Regions from separate parts of the Homo sapiens genome. Here all the other regions are linked to region 1. The links are contacts of gene promoters, found by promoter capture Hi-C in blood cells and fetal thymus (Javierre and others, 2016). All regions are on one chromosome and are shown on one strand. The core of a region is centred on a gene start or on the middle of the fragment in contact, and the rest is flanking DNA. Distances in the headings are between cores, read along the strand shown. Region 1 holds the start of TMEM68 (transmembrane protein 68). Region 2 overlaps LYPLA1-TCEA1 (LYPLA1-TCEA1 readthrough). Region 3 holds the start of TCEA1 (transcription elongation factor A1). Region 4 overlaps LYPLA1-TCEA1 (LYPLA1-TCEA1 readthrough). Region 5 has its middle 28 kb from the start of MRPL15. Region 6 holds the start of BPNT2 (3'(2'), 5'-bisphosphate nucleotidase 2). Region 7 has its middle 21 kb from the start of RP1.

Evidence for each region. Contacts are between HindIII fragments. The CHiCAGO score rates a contact against its expected background, and 5 or more counts as called.
Region 2: a contact is called between a fragment that was not itself captured here and the fragment with the promoter of TMEM68 in region 1, in 1 of 17 cell types (total CD8 T cells). The highest score is 5.4, in total CD8 T cells.
Region 3: a contact is called between the fragment with the promoter of TCEA1 here and the fragment with the promoter of TMEM68 in region 1, in 1 of 17 cell types (non-activated CD4 T cells). The highest score is 5.1, in non-activated CD4 T cells.
Region 4: a fragment that was not itself captured here is called in contact with the fragment with the promoter of TMEM68 in region 1 in 3 of 17 cell types (non-activated CD4 T cells, activated CD4 T cells and total CD8 T cells); the score reaches 10.6 in non-activated CD4 T cells.
Region 5: a contact is called between a fragment that was not itself captured here and the fragment with the promoter of TMEM68 in region 1, in 3 of 17 cell types (total CD8 T cells, M2 macrophages and activated CD4 T cells). The highest score is 7.5, in total CD8 T cells.
Region 6: a contact is called between a fragment that was not itself captured here and the fragment with the promoter of TMEM68 in region 1, in 3 of 17 cell types (total B cells, non-activated CD4 T cells and naive CD8 T cells). The highest score is 8.5, in total B cells.
Region 7: a contact is called between a fragment that was not itself captured here and the fragment with the promoter of TMEM68 in region 1, in 1 of 17 cell types (naive B cells). The highest score is 5.6, in naive B cells.

The regions. Positions count from the first base shown.
Region 1 is chr8:55,772,020-55,774,702 of GRCh38, reverse strand. It overlaps TMEM68 (transmembrane protein 68), which reads left to right and starts at 1,325. Exons shown (of 8, transcript NM_001286657.2): 1 at 1,325-1,434. TGS1 (trimethylguanosine synthase 1) reads right to left here and starts at 1,257. Exons shown (of 13, transcript NM_024831.8): 1 at 984-1,257. The coding sequence starts at 1,084. RefSeq lists enhancers at 819-1,148, 1,920-2,423 and silencers at 1,289-1,478, 1,569-1,698. The HindIII fragment of the contact is 10,724 bases long and covers 1-2,683 here.
Region 2 is chr8:54,001,955-54,004,637 of GRCh38, reverse strand. The region is part of intron 13 of LYPLA1-TCEA1 (LYPLA1-TCEA1 readthrough); the gene reads left to right. All of the region lies in intron 2 of TCEA1 (transcription elongation factor A1), which reads left to right. Among named protein-coding and RNA genes, the nearest start is that of TCEA1, 19 kb to the left of the region's middle. The HindIII fragment of the contact is 926 bases long and covers 925-1,850 here.
Region 3 is chr8:54,021,146-54,023,828 of GRCh38, reverse strand. TCEA1 (transcription elongation factor A1) reads left to right here and starts at 1,381. Exons shown (of 10, transcript NM_006756.4): 1 at 1,381-1,766. The coding sequence starts at 1,704. The region is part of intron 12 of LYPLA1-TCEA1 (LYPLA1-TCEA1 readthrough); the gene reads left to right. It overlaps LOC133039971 (Uncharacterized LOC133039971), which reads right to left and starts at 1,796. Exons shown (of 3, transcript NR_189620.1): 1 at 1,447-1,796. RefSeq lists silencers at 328-635, 1,763-1,932 and enhancers at 57-848, 1,443-1,592, 849-1,642. The HindIII fragment of the contact is 35,827 bases long and covers 1-2,683 here.
Region 4 is chr8:54,097,314-54,099,996 of GRCh38, reverse strand. All of the region lies in intron 2 of LYPLA1-TCEA1 (LYPLA1-TCEA1 readthrough), which reads left to right. All of the region lies in intron 2 of LYPLA1 (lysophospholipase 1), which reads left to right. Among named protein-coding and RNA genes, the nearest start is that of LYPLA1, 3.3 kb to the left of the region's middle. The HindIII fragment of the contact is 3,061 bases long and covers 1-2,683 here.
Region 5 is chr8:54,161,458-54,164,140 of GRCh38, reverse strand. No RefSeq gene overlaps it. Among named protein-coding and RNA genes, the nearest start is that of MRPL15, 28 kb to the right of the region's middle. The HindIII fragment of the contact is 912 bases long and covers 897-1,808 here.
Region 6 is chr8:56,993,682-56,996,364 of GRCh38, reverse strand. It overlaps BPNT2 (3'(2'), 5'-bisphosphate nucleotidase 2), which reads left to right and starts at 2,498. Exons shown (of 5, transcript NM_017813.5): 1 at 2,498-2,683. RefSeq lists a silencer at 2,382-2,683. The HindIII fragment of the contact is 1,549 bases long and covers 592-2,140 here.
Region 7 is chr8:54,635,724-54,638,406 of GRCh38, reverse strand. It overlaps a transcript of RP1 not described here. Among named protein-coding and RNA genes, the nearest start is that of RP1, 21 kb to the right of the region's middle. The HindIII fragment of the contact is 2,868 bases long and covers 1-2,683 here.

The sequences.
Region 1 (2,683 bases), core at 76-2,575:
TTCTCTGCTAGGAAGTAAACTCAATACATGTAAGGACAGAATGTCTTGTACCTCAGTGCCTACCAGCATACTTGATATACAAGAGCACAAAAAACATTTTCTGAATGATTGTATGACTACATGCATGCCTGACTAAAAAGGCGACAATACTTTTTACATTAAATTTAACAAGTTTAACTTCTTTTTGCGTTTTCAAATTACTCCACAAAATTACACGAGAAAAATGAATTCCTTCAAACTTAAATCCTACTATATTAAACTATATTAAAAGTCTATCACATAAAATTCACTTCCACAAGGATTTAACTCTAACAAAATAAGCATGTGAGATTAAATATACCCGTTATAGAGATGAAAAAAAGGTTCAAGTGGTTTAACTCACGCATTTAATATAAAGGAAACAATTCCTAGAATTCAAGTCTCTTGGCGGTATTATTCCTGCATACTAGCTATTTTTCATGTGGGGCAATTTTTACCTGATTCAAAGATTTCCCCAAAATAAAGATATCACAAAAACTGATGTAAATATGGTTAAGTCTTTTATCTCAACTAGTTTGAAGTTTTAATTATGTGCATTTGGGCTTAAGTAGATTTTTAGGTTTAAAAAAAGACGTTAACCAAAGCAAGTCACTCAACTTTAAACTTTCACTTTATGACATCATATCTACTAGAGATTTCATTTTACATGTCGCTTTCCCCCAATTTTTAAATGTCCCCTCGATTTACAAATATGAGATGACATATAGCACCTACGACATTTTTTCATAGCAGCCTACCAAGTAGATGTAGTCCTTCACATAAAAATAATGGCAGTGGGCGACCACTCCGTCATGTCTGAGGGTTTTGTTTTTCTTAAACATCACCGTGCCCAAGGGTCAGATGTTCTGGCTGCTTTCAGGGATCAATTACAACCACGTTTGCAATACCTACATTTCTGGGTAATGACTGTGCTAGAACATGAAGAGATTCTCTTTTCTACTTACTCCACAAATGCCCTGGAGCAAAGGCACAGTATCTTACAATCCTCCCGCTCCTCAATGAAGAGAAACATTTCCGCCACGCGGCTCCACTTCTCGCAGCACATTTTACCACTTCGGAGGCAGCTCTGACGTACGCAGCCCGGGTCGCGCCTGCCGGGCCTCCGCTCGGTTACTGGAGACTTAAAACAGGCCTCGCCCGCAAGCCCTGGATGAGGAGATAGAAACTGGCCCGCGGCCGCTCGCGCCGGGAACTAGCCCGGACGCTGCCGCCGGAAGTGGCTCCGAGGGGCCACGGGAAGGGGCGGGACCACGGGCGGTGTCACCCCCATCGCGGCCCGGGCTGCAGCCGCCGCTTGGCTTCTTTCACACGGGTTGCTTCGGAGGAATCCGCCGTGCAAATCTGTCCGCCCCCTTGGCCACTGATCCCCCGAAGAGCTTCTGTCGCCGCTCTAGGGTAAAGGAGAGCTGCCCCTGCCCCTGCCCCCGCCTATCCGAGGTGCGTCGGCCCCCGCGCTTCTCCAGCCCGGCATCGGGTCTGGCGGGACTGGGAGCGGCGGAGGCCGCGCGCGTCCGGTCTCCCAGGAGCCGCCTCGGAATCCCCAGTCTCTTCGCGGGCAGGCTCGGCTTCCCGCCGGCCTCAGTGTTGCGCCCCAGCGCCAGAGTGGCCGGGTGTGGAGATCCTCCCTCCTCTGGGTCAAAGAGCCTGCTCTCCCCGCCCCTCTTCTCCCCTGGCGCTCTAAACCTTCGGTTCGGCGCGTTTCATCCTAATGCATCTGGTGGGGCGAGGCGTCTCTAGCCTCTGTAGAGGCCTCTAGGCTTGCCCAGTGGCTTCGCTGGTTCCGGGACCCAGGTCGAGCCTCCGGTGTAAAAGCCAAGGGGAAGTGTGTGGTGATCCCGAGAGTGTAGGGGGAAAGCCGCGTGGGTAGAGCGTTCGTATCCAGACCGATCAGGCTTGGAATCCTGGTCCTACCTTGTGACCTGGGCAGGCAACTTCACCTTTCTGAGCTTACCTTTGATCACCTGTGAAATGGGGTTGATTAATAGTAACTACTACATGAGGCTGCAGGGAGGACTAAACGAAATGATGTATATTACACCTTTCCTTTGTGCGCTTAATCGTTGGCGTCGGTTTGGACCTTGTAGGCGTTAAGTGCTGTCTCGGTCCCTGGGGTTTGCAGCCTGTAAAACAGGTCTCTGCCTTCAAGTTACTAATTATCTAATAAGAAAAAAGTTCATGTGGGCATAAATAGGATGGAGAAAATGGAAACAGCAGCGTTGCTGGATCTGTTAAAAAGCAGTTAGTATTTGGTGTGTGGTATTCATGGAGGCTGCACGGGCAACTTCTTCAGAGACAAGCTCAGACTTGAAAGTTGGAGCGCTTCGGACGTGGTTGGTGCTACGAAATGCCAAAATAGTATTGGTACTTCTTCAGAACTATATAAAAACTGAGCTAAAATTCATGCATTTTGAATGGTATTTTCAATAGTATTTTGGCCACATTTACTAGTTAGTGGAAATATTCATTTTCAAATGTTTATTCCCACCTCCTTACTGCTGCCCTACTTTGAGGTCGGAGATAGGCTGATTTTGTTGGTTCAAGAAGGTAAGAGTGCTGCACGGTTACAGATATACCAGTATAGATGTGCAGCATTATTGGGATGAGTAGCTGGGTTACGATAATAAGGGTAGAACAGTAATTATGA
Region 2 (2,683 bases), core at 138-2,637, 1.8 Mb after region 1:
CCCCCAACTGGTCTTCCTCCTTCCAGCCTAGGCAACCACTAATCTTTCTGTCTCTATAGGTTTGCCTGTTCTGGAGTTTTCATATAAATGGAATCATACAGTATCTGACCTTTGATGTCTGGCTTCTGTCACTTAGCTTAATGTTTTCAGGATTCATCCATGTTGCAGTTTATGTCAGAATTTTCAGGCCTTTTTATGGCTGAATAATATTCAGTTGCATGGATATTTCACATGTTGTTTATCCATTTGTCAGGTGATGCGTTTAGACTTTTTTGGCTGTTATGTATCACACTGCTATGCGTGTTTATATACAAGTTTGTGTGAGCATATGTTTTTGTTGTTCTTGTGTAGATACCTGGGAATGGTATTGCTGGTTTATGTGGTAACTGTGTGTTTAACATTTTGAGGACCTGCCAGACTCTTTTCTCCAGCCACCATACCATTTTATATCCCTAGTAGCAGTAAACGAGGGGTCCAGTTTCTCTGCATCCTTGCAAACACTTGTTGTTGTTTGTTTTTGATTATAGCTATTGTAGTGGGTGTAGTGGTATTTCATTGTAGCTTTAATTTTTATTTCCATAATGTCTAAGGATGTTGAATATCTTTTCATGTGCTTGTTGGTTATTTTTATATCTTATTCGGAGAAATGTCTATCCAGATCCTTTGCCCGTTTTTAAATTGGATTGTCTTTTTTTTTTTAATCGAGTTGTAATAGTTCTTTATATATTCCAAATACAAGTCGCTTATCAGACATAGAGTTTGCAAATATTGTCTCTTTTTCTGTGAATTATCTTTTTGCTTTCTCGATGGTGTTCATTGAAGCACAAAAGTTTTAAATTTTGATATATTCTATTTTTTCTTTGATTGCTTGCGCCTTAGGTGTCATATCCAAGAAACCATTCCCTAATCCAAGGTCATGAAGCTTTACTCCTGTTCATATTGAGTTAATTTTTATGTGTGGTATAAGGAAGAGGTTCAGGTTTATTCTTTTACATGTGGATGTCTAGTTGTTCCAGCACCATTTGTTAAAAAGAATATTCTTTTCTCCAATGAATTGTCTTGATATCCTTATCTAAAATCAGTTGATGAAAAATGTAGGAATTTATTTCTGGAGTCTTAAATTTATCCCATTGATCTGCGCGTCCATCCTTTTGCCAGTACTATGCTATCTTGGTTACTATAGGGAATTGTGAGTGCTCCAACTTTGTTCTTCTTTTTCAAGATTGTTTTGGCTGTTTTGGGTCCTTTGCATTTCTGTATGGACTTTAGGGTACGCTTGTCAATTTCTACACTAAAGGCAGATGGGATTCTGATAGGCATTGCATTGAGTCAGTAGTTCGACTTGATTAGTATTGCAGTCTTAACATTTAAGTCTTCCGGTCTATCGACATGAGATTTAAAAATTTTGTTTGGGTCATCTTTAATTTCTTTCAAAAATGTTTTATAGTAGCTGTGTGTTTCTTTTATATATGTGTGTTTTAAATGTATGTTTTACATATGTGTTTTATAGTAGCTGTACAGTAGCTATATGTTTTTTACCTTAAGATTTAGTGGCTACCTTGAGATCATCTTGGCAAAAACTCATGAGTGATCACAAAGGAGACTTTTCTTCTGGAGCACACCAAATCTGCTTGTTTCCTGTGATGTTAACAGTGTCTCTTGATCTCAGTACTCATTCCTTTCTGCTTTTCCATCAGTGTGCAGCTGACCCCTAAGGCTGCTTAATGCACTCTCCACCTTTCCAAGGTAATGTCTTTCTTTCTGTATACCTGATGTTCTATAGAAATCATAGGCAAAGGCACATATTTTATCTGCTAGAGTTTCACGATGTATAGTTTGTCCTGAAAGCTTTCATTAGTCCTGCAGTCAAGAAAACAGTTATAATCCCACAATTCCTAAGGTCACTTGAGCACAGAATACTTTCGTATAACCTATCTATTACATCTTGTAAGTCTTAGCATACCAATTTTAGGAAAAATCTCTAGGGAATTCATAGAGTCAACTTCAGACTTGCTTATCCAAGTAAATAGCTTCATAATCTTTTCCTCTACTTTTTTTTTTTTTCATTTTTTCCATGGTACCCCCAAAGGAAAAAAGAAAAACTTATTTCAAATCTTTGTTTTTCATTCTACCTCAGCAGCTTCATTTCTTTTTTTTCTTTTTTTTTTTGAGACGGAGTCTTGTTCTGTTACCCAGGCTGGAGTGCAGTGGTGCAATCTCGGCTCACTGCAACCTCTACCTCCCGGGTTCAAGCAATTCTCCTGCCTTAGTCTCCCAAGTAGCTGGGACTACAGGTGCGTGCCACCATGCCCAGCTAATTTTTTGTACTTTTTAAAGATGGGGTTTCACCGTGTCAGCCAGGATGGTCTTAATCTCCCGACCTCGTGATCCACCCACCTCGGCCTCCCAGAGTGCTGGGATTACAGGCGTGAGCCACCATACCCGCCCTTTTTTTTTCTTTTTGGAGACAGTCTTGCTCTGTCGCCCAGGCTGGAAGCTGGAGCGCAGTGGTGTGATCGTGGCTCGCTGCAACTTCTGCCTTCTGGGTTCAAGTGATTCTTCTGTCTCAGCCTCCCGAGTAGCTGGGACTACAGGCGCTTGCCACCACGCCCAGCTAATTTGTTTTTTGTTTGTTTGTTTGTTTTTTGTTTTTTTTTTTTAGTAGAGACAGTTTTACTATATT
Region 3 (2,683 bases), core at 132-2,631, 1.8 Mb after region 1:
AAAACTCCGTGTCAAAAAAAAAAAAAAATTGACAAAATAAATCTCAACAAATACTACAATTTAAGCTGGAAATCAATAATAAAAAGATAATTTAAAAATGAAACAAAATAGGGAAACGATCCCAATACTTCTCCCCCAAATGAGTGAGTCATAACCAGGAAAAACCTGTCATCTCAGTATAGAAAGAACATTATTAGGCGGTGTATTTTGATGAATGATAGTTACGTGGTGTGGGAGTTATACCTGCAAATAGCATGAGTTGGTCGTGAAGGGTTTAAGTGGGGAAAGACTTTTTGGAGGAGCCTGCATTCTCCACTATGAACCCTGTCACAACTTAAGTCACCTTCCTCTCTGATCCTCAGAAGCTGGTGGGATGCCTTGTGTAATTTCTGACCAGAAGGTTTCCGTCAACTGTTCTTCAACTATTCAAAATGCCATGCCCAAGACTGGTTCTTAGTACTCCAGGAGCTCACGAACGATTTCACCTTTATTTATTTTTTATTTTTTTTGAGACGGAGTTTCGCTCTTGTCGCCCAGGCTAGAATGCAATGGCAGTCTCGGCTCACCGCAACTTCCGCCTCCCGGGTTCAAACGATTCTCCTGCCTCAGCCTCCCGAGTGGCTGGGATCACAGGCCATGACGCCCGGCTAATTTTGTATTTTTAGTAGTGACGATGTTTCTCCATGTTGGTCAGGCTGGTCTCGAACTCCTCACCTCAGTTGATCCGCCCGCCTCGGCCTCCCAAAGTGCTGGGATTACAGGCATGAGCCACCGCGCCCGGCCGATTTTTTTTAAAAAAAGGAACGCTTAGCCGGGTGCAGTGGCTCAGGTCTGTAATCGCAGCACTTTGGGAGGCCGAGGCGGGCGGATCACTAGGTCAAGAGATCAAAACCATCCTGGCCAACATGGTGAAACCCTGTCTCTACTAAAAATACAAAAAATTAGCAGGGCGTGGTGGCGGGCGCCTGTAGTCCCAGCTACTCGGGAAACTAAAGCAGGAGAATCGCTTGAACCCGGGGGGGGGAGCTTGCAGTGAGTGGAGATCGCGCCACTGTACTCCAGCCAGGCGACAGAACGAGGCTCCGTCTCAAAAAAAAAGGAACTCTTAAAACGAGTAACTCCGTAACCTAACTTAGAGGACACGGGTTCCATTTTTCCCCGTAGCAGTCTCCTATGGAGAAAGTGCTTGGCTTCCCACAGACTTTAAAACCTGCCAAAGTTCCATGCTCGGAATCTGCCCCCGTTTCGAGATACTTGGGCCTCCGCGAGTTCTAAAACTCCGGGATGTCCCGATGCAATAGGGGGCCGAAAACCCGCCCCGTGAGGGGGCGGGACCGGAGGTGAACGCGCAGCAAAACCGGGCGCCTTCCACGACCCTCTAGCCGGAAGCCACGCCTGCCCACTAGCCCGACGCCCGCCTGGCGGGAACATGGGCTCGCCCCTCACCAGCGATCTGCAGTCAGTTGGTAGCGCCTGCACGTCGCGCGCGGTGTTCGATTGTCGCTGCCTGGGGAGGAGGAGCCGGAGCCGCCGCCGCCGCCGCCGCCGCCGCGGGCTTCGTTCGTAAGGAAGGGGGCCTAGGCCCGGGCCTGCGGTGGTGGGGGTTGCTGCGCGCCGGGGGTCGCTCCTGCTGTGTCTTCCGCTCCAGCTTCGCCCACTTCCCCTTGCCAGCGGGGTGGGCGCGGAGAAGACCTGCCGGAGCCATGGAGGACGAAGTGGTCCGCTTTGCCAAGAAGATGGACAAGATGGTGCAGAAGAAGAACGCGGTGAGCGCGGCGAGCGGCGCGGGCCGGGAGGGAGGCCGGGCCGCGGTCCGGCCCGAGGGGGCCGCCCCCTCCCTCCTTCTCCCTCCCCTCCCCCTGCAGCCTCCCGTCTGGGAGCCGGGCCCGCCGCGCCCGCGTCCCCGGGGAGGGTGTCCGGGCCCGGGGCGTCGGGTCCCGCGGCAACCTGCGTTAGGACCCGCTCGCTCTTGTATTTCCAGTCCCTGCTCGCTGGTGCCGTGTAATAAACCTAATCGATTTAGGGATTAGGGCACGCTCTCCGTTGACTTTAAACTTTCGTGCTAGTAAAACCTTGGCAATTTAGCTTAGGAATTGAAGCGTAGAAAGTCCTCAGAACTTGAAAGAATGGAGTCTTCCGTGATCCGTGGCCAACATCTAGAAAGAGCATCAAATAGAGGCTTGTGATCGGTATTAGACATCGGGCTGGTAAAATGTAAAACTTCTGTGTCTTATTTTTGAAGAGGGCTGAACGTCCGCCTGGTTATCTCAACTGTGCTACATGTTTGCTTAGCGATTAAAAAGGTAAAGTGTGCCAGTTTCTTGGCGAGTTGCTAAACGTTTTATAAAAAGCGGGTTTTGTCCTGTCGTAATGTACAGAAGAGTTAGGACTACAGCACGCACACTCACCGGAATGCTGGTAGAGGGATTTGGACAAATTATATTGTTGGGTATTTTCTAAGTGGTTTACAGTTAATACTGGTGGCATTTTTTTTGTTATTGATGAATATTCATGTAAGCATATGCTTTTGTGGTTTGTAAGAAATCCTCATACGACCAGTTTCTACAGCTTGCCCATTTGTGTGGCACTTTCAGTCCCTTGCTTCAGACTCATCTGTTCTTAGCTAAACATATTTTTTCGAGACGGAGTTTAACTCTTGTTGCACAAGCTGGAGTGCAATGGC
Region 4 (2,683 bases), core at 122-2,621, 1.7 Mb after region 1:
AATGAACCATTGGGGCCGGGCGCGGTGGCTCACACCTGTAATCCCAGCACTTTGGGAGGCCGAGGTGGGTAGTTCACTTGATGTCAAGAGTTCGACACCAGCTTGGCCAATATGGTGAAACCCCATCTCTACTAAAAATATAAAAATTACCCGGGTGTGGTGGTGCATGCCTGTAATCCCAGCTGCTAGGGAGGCTGAGAGAAGAGAATCACTTGAACCTGGGAGGCAGAGGCTTCAGTGAGCCAAGATTGCACGACTGCACTCCAGCCTGGGCCACAGAGTGAGACTCAAAAAAAAAAAAAATGCCATTAGGCTAGATTTTTGTTTGTTTGTTTGGAGACAGGGTCTGCTGTGTTGCCCTGGCTGGAGGGCAGTGGCGTGATCTTGACTCACTGCAACCTCCACCTTCTGGGTTCCTGGGTCTCCCGAGTAGCTGGGACTACAGTTGCTTGCCACCATGCCAGCTAATTTTTGTATTTTTAGTAGAGACAGAGTTTTGCCATGTTGGTTACGCTGGTCTCGAACTCCTGACCTCAAATGATCCACCCACCTGAGCCTCCCAAAGTGCTGGGATTACAGGCGTGAGCCACCACTTAAAAGTGATTCCTATTTTTTGCCTAATAAGTCGAGTTATGTAATACAAACTTTGTATGGAGTTACAGAAAAGGTTGCAGCACTCTTTCTGGCAATCCAGTGGTCCTGTGAAAATGATGAACTTATTTTACCAAATGAAACTCGAATAGCAGAATCTCTATTTTATGGCCAAACCTTTCTTGATGTTGCAAGTCAGGGAGAAGGTTGCTATCCTCTAACTTTGCCAATAATGAGCACTTCTATGCCTGAATGATTAGTTCAAGCAAAAAAAAAAAAACTTCAGTCTAGGCAGATTCCACAGACTGAAGCTAAAAGTAAAAATGGTGAAGACTATTAGGATCAAAAATACCAAGAACATCCATTACATCTTGACCAAAAGTTAAGTTTATATTAAAAAAGTATCCTTCTTTTTAACCTGTTGTGATAAAAGAAAAAACAAAGGTCTCCAGTTCTGAAATTATTTGGTGGGATAATGCTAAGGAAAGGCTGACTCTAGATTGGTTCCATGAGTGCATGATGAAACTTCGAACCTGTCAGCCTGACAAGTGGCAATTTAATACTTAAGATATTGTAGTCTCCCCTTACCTGCAGTTTTGCTTCCCATGGTTTCAGTTACCCGTGGTTAACTGTGGTTTGAAAATACTAAATGAAAAATTCCAGAAATACTTTATAAGTTTAAAATTGTACACCATTCTTTTTTATTTATTTTATTATTATTTTTTGAGATGGAGTCTCACTCTGTCACCCAGGCTGGAGTGCAGTGGCACGATCTCGGCTCCCTTCAACCTCTGCCACTCGGGTTCAAGTGATTCTTGTGCCTCGGCCTCCGGCGTAGCTGAGATTACAGGCGCGTGCTACCACGTCCAGCTAATTTTTTTGTATTTTTAGTAGAGATGGGGTTTTGCCATGTTGGCCAGGGTGGTCTTGAACTCCTGACCTCTAGTGATCCACCCACCTCGGCCTCCCGCAGTGCTGGGATTACAGGCATGAGCCACCATGCCTGGCCTGAATTGTACACCATTCTGAGTATTGTGATGAAATCTCATTCCGTCTCACCCAGGACACGAATCATTCCTTTACCTAGCGTATCCATGCTATATCCATTCACCATCTGTTAGTCACTTGGTAGCCATCTGGGTTATCAGGTCAACTGTTTTGGTATTGTTTTGCTTTTTTTTTTGAGACAGAGTCTTGCTCTGTCACCCAGGCTGGAATGCAGTGACACAATCATGGCTCACTGCAACCTCCACTCTCCAGGTTCAAGCAACTCTCCTGCCTCAGCCTCCTGAGTAGCTGGGACTACAGGCGTGCACCACCACACCCGGCTAATTTTTGTATTTTTAGTAGAGACGGGGTTTCATCATGTTGGCCAGGCCAGTCTGGAACTCTTGACCTCAAGCGATCTGCCCGCCTTGGCCTCCCAAAGTGCTGGGAATACAGGCATGAGCCACCTCGCCCAGCCTGTAGTGCTTTTATCCAAATAAGCCTTACATTGCTTAATGATGGCCCCAAAGTGCAAGAGAAGTGATGTTGTCATATTGTTATAATTGTTTTATTATTGTTAATCTCTTCCTATGTCTAATTTACACAATAAACTTTATCACAAGCATTATGTATAGGAAAAAACATAGTATATATAGGGTTTGGTGTTATCCATGGATTCAGGCATCCACTAGGGGTTTTAGAGCATCCCCCACTGTTTATTTCTGGAATTTTCCATGTAATATTTTCGAACCACAGTTGACTGTGGGCAGCTGAAACCATGGAAAACAAAACTGTGGGTGAGAAGGACTAGGGTATTTTAAACATTATATAATCACAGAAAAGTTATCCCATTAAATTTAACATTTAGTATTATCTAATATATTATGCATTCAACCTTTGCCAGATTGTTCCATTAATATCCTTTATAGCTATCTCCTCCCTAGTCATACATTATATTTAGTTATCACGTCTCTTTAGTCTCTTTTGTCTCTTTTAATCTGGAACAATTCCCTAGATTTTCTTTTGTCTTTCACGACATTGACACTTCTGCAGAGAACAGGCTAGTCCTTTAATTTGGGTTTGTGTATTTACTCATGATTAGATT
Region 5 (2,683 bases), core at 103-2,602, 1.6 Mb after region 1:
GAAATGGATAAATTACTTGACAGACACAAACTACAAAAACAGACTCAAGAAGAGTAGAAAATCACAGAAAAAAAGAGAAATAAAAAAGAATAGAAAATCTGAAAAGATGTATAACAAGAGAATTATTAATCAAAAACTTCCCACAAAGAATAGCCCAGGGTCAGATGACTTCACTGGTGAATTCTACCAAATATTTAAAGAATTAATGCCAATTCTTCAAAAATTCTTCAAAAAAAAAAAGAGGAGGAAACACTTCGAAATCATTCTATTTGCCTAGTATAACACTGATACCAAAGACATCACAAAAAACTACAAATATATTTTAAATGATACATGCAAAACTCAACAAAATACAAGCAATCCAAATTCAGCAACATATAAAAGAGGATTATATACTATGACCAAGTGGAATTTATCCCAGGTATACAAGGTTGGTTTAATATCTGAAAATCTATCAATGTAATACACCAAATTAATAGAATAAAAGACAAAAACACATACTGATAAGAGATAGCCCATGTTCATGGATTAGACGACTTTTTTTTTTGAGACATGGTCTCACTTTGTCACTCAAGGTGGAGTACAGTGGCACAATCATGGCTCACTGCAGCCTCAACCTCCAGGGCTCAAGGGATTCACCTTAGCCTCTGCCTGTCCCTCAGGTACCTGAGACTATAGGCATGTTCCACCAGCTAATTTTTTATTTTTTACTTTTTTGTAAAGATGGAGTTTCACTATGTTGCCTAGGCTGGTCCCAAACCCCTGGGCTTAAGTGATCCTCCCACTTTGGTCTCCCAAAGTGCTGGAATTACAGAAGTGAGCCACCATGTCTGGCTAGAAGACTTAGTATTGTTAAAATAGCCATATTCTCTGAATTGATCTACAAATTTAAAGCTTGCATTTATCAAAATGCAAGCTGCCATTTTTGCAGAAATTGGCAAGGTGATTCTCAAATTTGTATGGAAATTCAAGGGGCCCAGAGGAGTCAAAACCATCTTGAAAAAGAAGAATAAGGCTAGGATTTCTTATTTTCAAAACTTACTACAAAACTACAGTAATCAAGACTGTATAAGACTTTATGTATCAAGTGTATAAAGTTAGACATATATAGCTCAATGGCACTTATGGCCAACTGATTTTCTACAAAGATACAAGACAATTCAATGGGAACAGAATATTTCTTTTCAGTAAATGTTGCTGGGACAACTTGATACCACATGCAAAAGAATAAAGTTGGACTCTTGCCTCACATCACATACAAACATTAACTCAAAAGTATTAAATGCTCAAATGAAAAGCTAAAGCTAGAAAACAGAGAATTTTAAGACCTAGGAGTAAATCTGCATGACTTAGCATTAGGTAATCATAACTTAGATGTGACAACAAAACCACAGGCAAAAAAAAAAAAGAAAAAATAGATAATTTAGACTTCATTGAAATTAAAAACTTTTGTTTATTAAAAGACACTGTCAAGAAAGTGAAAAGACAATACACAGAATGAGAGAAAATATTTGCAAATAATATATATAATAAGGATCTAGTATCCAGAATACATAAATATTATTATAATTCAATAAAAAGACAAATGGTACCATTTTAAAATAGGCAAAGGACCGGAAAAGACATTTATCCAAAGAAAACATACAAGTGGCAAATAAGTTCATGAAAGTGATTATCAATACCGTTAATTACTAGGGAAATGCAAATCAAAACCACAATGAAATACCACTCCACACCCACTAGAAAGGCTACAATCAAAAAGACAGACAATAATAAATCTTGGCAAAGATATGGAAAAATTGGAAGCTTCATGAGCGGCTGGCAGGAATGTAAAATGGTGCAGCCACTGTGGAGAACAGTTTGGCTGTTCCTCAAAAAGTTAAACATGGAATTACCATGTGTATTAGTCCGTTTTCACACTGCTGATAAAGACATACCTGAGACTGGGAAGAAAAAGAGGTTTAATTGGACTTACAGTTCCACATGGTTGGGGAGGCCTCAGAATTATGGTGGGAGGCAAAAGGCACTTCTTGCGTGGCAAGGGGCAAGAGAAAAATGAGGAAGAAGCAAAAGCGGAAACCCCTGATAAACCCGTCAGATCTTGTGAGACTTATTCACCACCACGAGAATAGCATGGGAAAGACCGGCCCCCATGATTCAATTACCTCCCTCTGGTGCCCTCCCACAATACGTGGGAATTCTGGGAGATACAATTCAAATTGAGATTTTGGTGGGGACACCGCCAAACCATATCATTCCACCCTTGGCCCCTCCAAATCTTATGTCCTCACATTTCAAAACCAATCATACCTTCCCAACAGTCCCCCAAAGTCTTATTTCAGCATTAACCCGAAAGTCCACAGCCCAAAGTCTCATCTGAGACAAGGCAAGTCCCTTCCGCCTATGAGCCTGTAAAATCAGAAGCAAGCTAGTTACTTCCTAGATACAATGGGGGTACAGGTATTGGGTAAATACAGCCATTCCAAATGGGAGAAATGGGCCAAAACAAAGGGGTTACAGGGCCCATGCAAGTCTGAAATCCAGCAGGGCAGTCACATTTTAAAGCTCCAAAATGATCTCCTTTGACTCCAGGTCTCGCATCCAGGTCACGCTGATGCAAGAGGTGGGTTCCCATGGTCTTGGACAGCTCCCTCCCTGTGGCTTTGCAGGGTACAGCCTCCCT
Region 6 (2,683 bases), core at 117-2,616, 1.2 Mb before region 1:
TAAGGCAGGGTTTTTCATTGGGTATAGTTTCTAGTTGCAGTTTCAAGTTGTCTTACTTGCATCAGCCTACATAATTATTTTGCTTTAATTTAAAAAGTTAACACATTTCCTTTTTTTTTCTTTTTTGTTTCTTTTTTTTTTTTTTTTTTTTTTTGAGACGGAGTCGGAGTCTCACTCTGTCGCCCAGGCTGGAGTGCGGTGGCGCGATCTCGGTTCACTGCAAGCTCCGCCTCCCGGTTTCATGCCATTTCTCGCCTCAGCCTCCCGAGTAGCTGGGACTACACGCGCCCGCCGCCACACCCGGCTAATTTTTTTGTATTTTTAGTACAGACGGGGTTTCACCGTGTTAGCCAGGATGGTCTCGATCTCCTGACCTCGTGATCCACTCACCTCGGCCTCCCAAAGTGCTGGGATTACAGGCATGAGCCACCGCGCCCGGCCTAAAAGTTAACACATTTAATTGTTTATTTCAAAATCTTGGGGAAAACAATTTTAAGAATAGATGTAGATTATGTTTTAGGAACAGACTGTCCACAATCTTAATATGAAAGCCATATAATTTTCATGTGTATGTATGCATTGTTTGAAGCTTCTGACAACTTGATACTAAAAAAACAAGTTTCTTTCAATCAAATTCCTATAAAGGTTTTCTGACATCACTGTACCACATGTAATTAATCAAATGTTTTCTTATTGTCATAACTTCTTTTGTCGATTAAATGTTATCTGTTAATACCCATTCTCTATGATCAATTATCACTTGAGTGCTAGAACGCCTCTTGGAGCTACAATCTTTCAAGTGACTCCTTCTTTCCACATACCTTGGCATTTTCTCCCTCAAGTCTTAAATCCCTTTTTTGCAGTAGAAATGCTCCAGAGCTTTTAGTATTTCCCTCAGTGGTATACTGTGTATACTGCCACACTGAATGTGACCCTATATTATTCTCCAATATCCTTGGAAAATATTATTCCGTTTATTTTGAGAAATCTCAGACTTCCCAATGATGCTTTTAATATTGACATGATTACTATCCAACTCATCTTTTTGCTGCTGTCATAGTGTAGGTTGGGGTGGTTCTGTTTAACTTAAACCTTTATATTTCAACCCTGATGTTTATCTTTATCCCTGGGATGGGTTTTGAGAATTACTCTGTGACATTCACTTTTAGATATTTGAAAGCAGCTTTGCTTCATTGCAAAGTTACTCTCAAAAGCTGACAAGAAAGGCAATGCTAGTTCTTTAAGTTCTGGTGCTGTCAATACTCTAGGGATTGTTCTTTCACTGATTTGTATTTGTACTTGATTTTGTGCTGTGATTCTGGCAGGGAAATCACAGTGCTTTTGTTGTATGTGTATAATCTGGCAGTGCTTTTGTTGTATGTGTATAATCACATGCAAATTCTAGGGATGCCCTGAACTCTAAGTAAGCGGTAAAGGTCAGGCTCTACATGACTTGCTTAGCAATGGATGTTTAGAAGTTTGGTATACTTGCAGTTTTTCAGGTGGTTAATTCTAAAGTCCACTTAAAACCAATGCTGTTTTGCTATGAACAGTAAAACAGGCTACATTTTAAGTTGATTTATATAGATATTTTAACATTTAAGAACAATACTATACATCTTAATATTCACTTTTAAGATTAAAGATAAACTCATGAATACTTATAAAGTATTCACTATCATTCTAGCTAAGATCGGTGTTATAGTAGAAGGTAGTTATTTCTGTCAAAATACTTCGAGAGCCTACGCTGACTCAAAGATTACATGTTCTAGACTGACCATCTCCGGATAACCTCTATTTTAAGTGGACTCTGTCAAGCAATTCCTCTTCTTAAGCTCTGGTAGGAGAGCCAGGCTCGAGTACCCTTGGAAATGAGAGAAGCCTGGTTTGCTTTCTTTCATTATGAAAAACCCGGATCAAGGCATGTTTTTCAGCTGCTTCGAGGATGGTTTATTCTGGCAGGTGGAGGAGAGAAACTCTATACACACATAAGCATTTAGGGCACGACAAAGATGTCAACAGAATGAAGAGCCAAGTACAATTCTTCCCCTCACCGCCCAGTTCCCCGTCCTGCCGGGAAGAGCGCGGAGAAGCGACTTAAAGGTACAGGCTGTCTACACCCCCGCTGGCTAAAAAAGCTTGCAAATCAATCTTTTAAAATGGTTTATTGTGTTTTCCTCCATTCCTCAATAATCTGAGAGTGATGAGAAGACTAGACTGTTACTGTGGGTTTATTACAGCCAGCCATAGTCGTACAATGGGATATTTAATTTAAACACCCACAAGGCACTCAGCACAGCACACTGTCCTGTGCGGATTGCTGCTCGCCACTTCCAGGAATACCTTCCCACCCAGACCAAGGAAGGCAGCTCAGTCCAGCGCCTCCTGTCCCGCCCCGCCCCGCCCCAAGGGGAGGTGCCCAGCTCTCCCCGCCCCTCGCCCTCGCCCTCGCCCCGCCCCGTCGCGTAACCCGGATACACACCCACGCTCCCCTTTCACCTCGCGGCCGTAGGCTAACGTGGAAGTCGGACCAGCCGGCCGGCGGAAGAACCTAGAGCGCGCTGCCTGGCGAGTCAGGCGCGCGGGGCGGCGTTGGTGGTCTTCGCGGCGCAACTCGGCCTTTCCTGGGAGGGAGTGATGGGGCGCACCGGGGCCGGGGAGCGGGCGCCAGTGTAGCCCGCGC
Region 7 (2,683 bases), core at 63-2,562, 1.1 Mb after region 1:
GAGTGCAGTGGCGCGATCTCGGCTCACTGCAACCTCCACCTCCTGGGTTCAAGTGATTCTCCTGTCTCAGCCTCCCAAGTAGCTGAGATTACAGGTGCACAACACCATGCCTGGCTAATCTTTTGTATTTTAGTAGAGACAGGGTTTCACTGTGTTGCCGAGGCTCGTCTCGAACTCACAAGCTCAGGCAATCCACCTGCCAAAAGATATTTTCATACATTCAAGAATCAAAAAAGAACTCCCATGCACCCCTTATTATAAACTATAAGAGAATTTTCTCCACCTAAACTGAGGCCTAAACTAAGATTTCAATAAACAAGACATTCAATATAGAGAGGAAAAGGAGATTCCCAGGATGTTGCTGAGGGATAGCTCAGGATGACAACTGCACAGCTGACCTGGATTGAAGCAGTTCACGTCGGATGAGGAGGGAGCTGGGTAGAGGAGTTGGGAAGGGACTTCCCCAAGGAATGCCTTCAAGAAAAATAATGTCCCCAAGGGAAAAAAATAGAATAGATGTGCACTTTTATGCTGACAGAGTCAGCCCTGGGGAAGAGTTCAGTAATAAATGGTAGTCCATTTTTAATCCAAGGAAAACAAAAAATAGTTCAAAAAAGAAAATGTAGTCAGGATACACTAAAAGGCTCAGCTGAGGAAAATATTTACATATTTACATGGTTATTAATGAAAGCCCTGTAATTTAATAAAAAAAATTATATTGGCAGAGATATGAAGTGGGAGGCTGAAGGTGAAATGTCAATACACAAAATCTAAAATTGAAAAAAAAAGCAGTATGTCTCTAAATACAGAAATAAACAGCAGAAAAACAGCTAAATATTTTCAAGAAAGATGCCTCTGGAGTGGGAATTAGGCATGTACAGGGTCAGAAAGTGGTCTATTTTTTATTTTGAGCTATGCACTTCTGATTAAAACTAGTTATAAATGTATAACTTTGATAAGAAATAAAAATGCAAATGGAAGAGTTCACCATTGAAAAAGTAAAACTTCTATGCTGGATAGCCTGCCAGTGCAGGTCTACTGTGTGGTTCTGGCTCTTAATGCCTAGGTGGTCAGCTGTATGCAGAGACTTGTCCAGCTAGGCACTCACTGTGGACCCCTTTCCTAACCCACTCAGGACCACCCAGGAGTTCAATCAGTCCTATCGAGCTATTACATAGCACTCTACATACTTTGACATTTCATGACAACCAGATATTTCATGAGACTCTATCTGTTGATCCAGATGAGGTCCACAAGTTCCTAGCAGGATACCGAACAGGGCATACAAGGCTAACCTCAACATCAACCTGCTGAAGGAAGAGCACCAGACAATCTCCATAATGCTATGCTACACCATGCCTCCTGGAAGGGTGACAGGACAGAGCCCATTGTGCAGACTGGTGCAAACTAATAGGTGAACAGGGAGAAAGTAAGCAAAGGCATAAAATAACAAATCTAGAGAACTTTCTCTTGGTCCTAGTTATTCTTCATATAATGTCTTTTTGACTGAGAATTTCCACTAACAGACCTATATTGAAATATATGTCTAAAACAAACTCCAATGTCATTTAAATGACATGAAATTATTCTTTTGGATTCTCTATACCACATCCATGAGAATAAATGGGATACATATGTATGCAAGTGTGTTTTTTGTTTTTGTTTTTTGAGAGGGAGTTTTGCTCTTGCCGCCCAGGCTGGGGTACAGTGGCGTAATCTCAGCTCACTGCTACCTCCACCTACCGGGTTCAAGAGACTCTCCTGCCTCAGCCTCCCGAGTAGCTAGGATTACAGGCGCCCACGACCAGGCCCAGCTAATTTTTATATTTTTAGTAAAGAACGGGTTTCACCATGTTGGCCAGGCTGGTCTTGAACTCCTGACCTCAGGTGATCCACCTGCCTTGGCCTCCCAAAGTGCTGGGATTACAGGCGTGAGCCACCATGCACAGCCAACTGTTGTGATTTTTATGATGGTTTCTTTCTAATTTGGTCTTGAGGTTTTTCTTGAGAGTGGCCATAAGCTCCAGCCTTGCCCTTGCCAGAAATTCAAAGGATTTTGTTGTGGATGTTGACAGTGCGCCTTCCATGGGATGCCTCTTTATCCTGAAGGATGCCTATTGCCTAAGTGTCTGACCCATGACTAGGTGTCCCTCTCACAACAAACTGTTTTTTCAGGCAGACACCCTTGTGGGTCTTGCCTGACCTGTATCCAGATTATTCCTGTCAAGACAGCCACTCTCTAAGATAGCTCTGACCAAAAAGAAGGCTACGTTAAGAGCATCTATGCCAAATGAGACACAATGAAGTGAAATGGAAATGCGCAAAACATAAGTGTTTATTATTCACAGTTCCCAGAAAGGTTAGGGGTGCCAACAGAAAGAGGCAGCAGGGAGCTCAATCAGCAAGGGGTCAGTGGGGAGGAGAGGAAGAGGGAGAAAGGGAAGGAGGGAGGTTGTGAGACAGAACTTTTGGGAGAGAGGGACGGGGAAATCTCTGGGACTGTGTATGCCTTTATTAAGCTCTGTGGACATTATCCCTTAGGCTTTCTTGTGGGGGTTGTAGATGGGCTAATTTAAAGAAATAAGTTCCCCTCTTCCCTCCTGAAGGGGTGAACCTATTTATGTGACTCTGGTGTTGACCGTTACATTTTATCACGTTCAATAGCTGTGGGGTGTGTTGGGTT